Linked DNA regions of Homo sapiens: region 1 is linked to region 2. Evidence: promoter capture Hi-C in human tissues and cell types (Jung and others, 2019). All regions are on one chromosome and are shown on one strand. Each heading gives the region's core, a stretch centred on a gene start or on the middle of the fragment in contact. The rest is flanking DNA. Distances are from core to core; before and after follow the strand shown. Region 1 has its middle 8.9 kb from the start of LGALS16. Region 2 holds the start of LGALS14 (galectin 14).

Region 1 (2,700 bases), core at 47-2,546, 40 kb after region 2:
CTGCAACTGCACAGAAGTCAAGAATTGAGATTTGGAAACCTCCACCTAGATTTCAGAGGATGTATGAAAACGCCTGGATGTCCAAGCAGAAGTTTGCTACAGGGGTGGGGCTCTCATGGAGAACCTCTGCTAGGGCCATGTGGAAGGGAAATGTGGAAGGATCAGAGCCCCTACACAGAGTCCCTACTGGAGCACTTCCTAGTGGAGCTGTGAGAAGAGGGACACTGTCCTCCAGACCCCAGATACCTTGCACCATGAGCCTGGAAAAGCTTCAGACACTCAACATCAGCCCATGAAAACAGCCAGGAGGTGGGCTATACCCTGCAAAGCTACAGGGGCAGAACTACACAAGGCCATGGGAGTCCACCTCTTGCATCAGCATGACCTTGATGTGAAACATGGAGTCAAAGGAGATCATTTTGGGGCTTTAAAATTTGACTACCTGGCTGGATTTAGGACTTGCATGGGGCCTGTAACCCCTTTGTTTTGGCCAATTTCTCCCATTTGGAACAGCTGTATTTACTCAATTACCTGTACCCCCATTGTATCTAGGAAGTAACTAGCTTGCTTTGGATTTTACAGGCTCATAGGCAGAAGAGACTTGCCTTTTATCAGATGAGACTTTGGACAGCAGACATTTGGGTTAATGCTGAAATGAGTTAAGACTTTGGGGGACTGTTGGGAAGGCATGATAGGTTTTGAAATGTGAGGACATGAGATTTGGAGGGGCCAGGAGCAGATTAATATGGTTTGGCTATGTACCTACCCACATCTCAGCTTCAATTGTATCTCTCAGAATTCCCATGTGTTAAGGGAGGGACCCAGGGGGAGGTAGTTGAATCCCTTGGGCTGGTCTTTCCCATGCTATTCTTGTTATAGTGAATAAGTCTCACAGGATCTGATGGGTTTATCAGGGGTTTCGTCTTTTGCTTCCTTCTCATATTCTCTTGCCACTGCCATGTAAGAAGTGCCTTTCATCCACTGCTATGACTCTGAGGCCTCCTTGGCCATGTGGAACCATAAATCCATTAAGCCTCTTTTTCTTCCCAGTCTCAGTTATGTCTTTATCAGCAGCGTGAATGTCGACTAATACATTTGGTATTGTCAAACTTCTTAATATTTGTGGAGCGAATAGATATGTAGTATCTTGTGCATTTTCTTGATTACTAATGAGGATGAGAAAATTTTTATGTTTTGGGGGCATTCTCTTTTGTGAAATCCCTATTAATGTCTTTTCCCAATTTTCTTTTGGGATGCTATTTTTAAAATTAATTCATAGGAACTCCTTATACTTTGTTGATTTGATATTAATCTTTCATAGGTTTTAGGTACTGCAAATATCTTCTTCTAGTTTATAGTTTATCTTTTCACTTTTTTACTTTTATTTTTTAATTTTTACTTTTTTTTTGAGACAGAGTCTCACTCTGCCATTCAGGCTGGAGTGCAGTGGCTCACTGTAACCTCCACCTCCCGGGTTCAGAAGATTCTCGTGCATCAGCTTCCCAAGTAGCTGGGATTGCTAGTGTCTGCCACCAATGCCTGGCTAATTTCTTATATTTTCAGTGGAGACAGGGTTTCACCATGTTGGCCAGCCTGGTGTCAAACTCCTGACCTCAGGTGATCTACTGTTGGGATTACAGGCTTGAGACACCATGCCCAGCTTATCTTTTCACTTTTTGATGTAAAAAGTTCTCAATTTTGTGATAGTCAAAACATCTAATCTTTTTTAATGGTTAAATGGCTTTTTGTGTCTCATTCACTTACATTTTCTACTAAAAGTTTTAAAGTTTTGTTTCTGACACATAAGTCTTTGGTCCATCTGGAATTTAATGTTTGTATATAGAGCGAAGAAGGAATATAATTTCATTTTGTTTCCTATATCAGTAACCATTATTTTTCTTTCCTATGTATTGAAAAGTCCTTTCTTTCTTTGCTGATCTGCCATGTCACCTGCATCACATATCAAATATTAAATTTGTGGAGATTTGTTTGGGAGCTCTCTATTCTGTTTCATTGGTCAGTTTATCAATGAAGACCACACTATCTTAATTGCTGTAGCTTTATAAAACTTCTGATATTTGGCAGGAGAAATCTTTCCTTTTCTTTAATAATGTCTTTGACATTCTTGGCCCCTTCCCTTTTCCACATATATATGTATGTATATGTATGTATATATATACATACATATATATGTGTATATATACATACATATATATGTGTATATATACATACATATATATGTGTATATATACATACATATATATGTGTATATATACATACATATATATGTATGTATGTGTGTGTGTGTGTGTATGTGTATATATATATATATATATATATATATATATATATAGAGAGAGAGAGAGAGAGAGAGAGAGAGAGAGAGAGAGAGAGAGTCTCACTTTGTTTCCCAGGCTAGAGTACAGTGGTGCAATTGTAGCTCACTGCAGACTTGAACTCTTGGGCTCAAGAGCTCCTCCTACCTCAGCCGCCCAAGTAACTAGGACTCTAAGGCATGCACCACCACATCCAGCTGATTTTTTAAAAAATTATTATTTTTTGTAACGATGGGGATCTTGCTATGCTGCCTAGGCTGGTCTCAAACTTTTGACCTCAAGCAATCCTCCCACCTCAGGCTCCCAAAGTGCTGGGATTACAAGTGTGAGCCACCACACATGGCTCCAATTTCCATATTTTAAG
Region 2 (2,840 bases), core at 193-2,692:
GTGGGTCAGGGACATAACTGGAGGGAATGATTGATTTCTACGACGACTGCAAGTGGTTGATGATTTTTCTGTATTTTTGAGATAGGGTCTTGCTCTGTCACCCAGGCTGATATGCAGTGGTGCAATCACAGCTCACTGAAACATCGAACTCCTGGACTGCAGTGATCCTCACACATCTGCCCCCTCTTGTGTAGCTGGGGTGAAAGGTGTCTGCCACTCTGCCAGTCAGATATTTAAAGATTTTTAAAGAAAGCATATCACTATGATGCCTAGACCGGTCTCAAATTTCTGGCCTCAAGTTACCCTCCCATCTTTGCCTCCCAAATTGGTGGGATTATAGTCATGAACCAGTGAACCCAGCTGCTTTGTTGAGTAATGTCCACAGTAAGCACTGTCTGAATTCAGACAGCTTGTTCTTTCATGAGTGGAGGAACAAGTTTAGTCTCAGTTCAGACAGAGCTTACAGTGGATATTTTGTTTGATTCCGTCTCTTTAACCACGGCCTCTAATATTCTTCCCTGGCAAATCAGTATCTTCACACTCGCCTGTTCCACAATGGGAAGAACAGGCTGGGCTAGCGACAGGGAAGCTGAGCCTGGGAGGCAAAAGCCAGTGATCACTCTGTGCAGTCCCCACCTGAGGAACCATCTCTCCCATAATCTGCGTTCCTTTTCCTCACTCTTACTGGGAAGAGATATCTACTGATGATATATTTCGCTCTCATAAGTGATCTGAAACGAGTCCTTGGTAACTCACAATCCCCAAGATCCCCACCAGTTAAGCCACTTGGGATCCACATTGCCACACATGAAAAGACACACAGGTGCTTCATCAGAGGTGCTGCTGTGTGGGGAGGAACCTTCACATGCACAGAAGGCCACGTGCATGTTTTCCCTTCAATACCCAGTCACATCCCAGCACACACACCCATAGTCACACAGAGCCATGCCACTCACTGAGTTACACACACCTGCTCACTGTGCACATAAAGATGACCATGCACTGGTCTGGCTGTGCCCACACACACTCACATCACAGACAGGAAGACAAAGCACACTCACCCCCTTACACTCACTCACACACTTGCCGGTCCTGGTGGGTCATCCACCTCCCACCTAAAGTCACTTAATCTCAGCAGAGTTCACTCTCATCAGACACCACCACACCCTCACAGAGGGTTACACTGGTCCAGGGTCCACAGCCTACACCCACAATCATCTCAGATACCACAGCCTCAGGGTTTCTCTTCTACACACCCACAACTCTCGGTAATGCATTCACAGTAGGAATGCTCATATTTTCAACTCAGAAAACCTCCCCTGTTTCTTTCTTGGTTTATGTGACTTGAGATTATTGAAGGCTGTGACTTTTCAACTCACGGGTAGTGATGACATTGTTCTCTCCTTCTGGGCAGCTCTTCGGAATTGTGTCCAGTCTTCTGTGTGAATCTCTGAGTGGGATCATTTAAATGCTGCAACTCAGAGATGCCCTTTGGCTTCATGCCAGATTCCAAGCCCCTCCCAGCAAGCTTTCCGTGCAGCAGGAGAAAGACTCAGGTGTCAGAAAGAAACTCTGTCACAACCATAGATGTTTGCAGGTCTGTGTCTGTAATGCAGCAGAAATGACAGTGGGGGAGGTACCAGGCTGTGGATTGGGTTACCAGGGAAATGCATAGATAAGGATGATGGAGTGAGGGGTAGGGATTGTAAAGCCCAGCCTTTGTGCCTCTCAAGCTTTTTCTCCAGTATGCAGAATCTAGCCAGAAGGTGTACATTTCCTCAATTTGTACAATGACTAAAAATAAAAAATTGGGAATTTTGGAAAAAGACGTTAGACCTAGAAGGTAATTCTTCTCTTTGCCTTTAAAGGTTCTGGGAGGGCCTTTAAGGGTCAGATCCTTTTGACCTTGATCCTCAGGAGGATCTGGGAAGAGAAGTAGAGATAGTTCTTGCATGAACCTGCCTCACACTAGGCCCCTTGGATCTGCCAGGTGAGGGTCACTCTCATCTGTCTGTCACATACCTGGGCTCTAGCTGCATTCTCTGCTTTGTCTTGGAGTCCATGTAAAACAAAGTTTCAGAGATATTGTTTCTCCTGCAGATTCTGGGAGAAAGATGAGATTTTTTTTCTTTTTTCTTTTTTTTTACTTTTATTATAGGTTCAGGGGTACATATGCAGATAAAGTCATGTCATGAGGTTTGTGGTACATATGATTTCTTCACCTGGGTACTAAGCGTAGTACCCAATAGTTATTTTCTCTGCTCCTATCTCACCTTTCACCCTCCAACCTCAAGTAGGCTTCTGTGTGTGTTGTTCCCCTATTGGTGTCCATGAGTCTCATCATTTAGTTCACAATTATAAGTGAGAACATGCAGTATTTGGTTTTCTGTTCCTGCATTAGTTTGCTAAAAATAATGGCCTCCAGCTCCATCCATGTTCCTGCAAAAGACATGAACTCATTCTTTTTTAGGGCTTCATAGTATTCCATTGTGTATATGTATCACATTATCTGTATCCAATCTGTCCTTGATGGCATTTGGGTTCATTCTGTGTCTTTGCTATTGTGCACAGTGTTGCAATGAACATTCATATGCATATGTCTTTAAGGCAGAATAATTTCTATTCTTCTGTGTATACAGTAGTGTATACACCATTCCCAGTAATGGGATTGCGGGGTTTAATGGTAGTTCTGTTATAAGCTCTTTGAGGAATCACCACACTGCTTTCCACAATGGGTGAGCTAATTTACACCACCGCCAATAATCTGTAAGTGCTCCTTTTTCTCCACACCCTTGCCAGCATCTGTCCTTTTTTGACTTTTTAAGAAGAGCCATTCTGAC

What was found. Contacts are between HindIII fragments. The study calls those that stand out against the background at their distance.
Region 1: a contact is called between a fragment that was not itself captured here and the fragment with the promoter of LGALS14 in region 2, in 1 of the 25 tissues and cell types used here (adrenal gland).

What each region holds. Positions count from the first base shown.
Region 1 is chr19:39,663,442-39,666,141 of GRCh38, reverse strand. No RefSeq gene overlaps it. Among named protein-coding and RNA genes, the nearest start is that of LGALS16, 8.9 kb to the right of the region's middle. The HindIII fragment of the contact is 4,209 bases long and covers 1-2,700 here.
Region 2 is chr19:39,703,083-39,705,922 of GRCh38, reverse strand. It overlaps LGALS14 (galectin 14), which reads right to left and starts at 1,442. Exons shown (of 4, transcript NM_020129.3): 1 at 1,380-1,442. The coding sequence starts at 1,394. RefSeq lists enhancers at 1,296-1,385, 1,406-1,535. The HindIII fragment of the contact is 10,211 bases long and covers 1-2,840 here.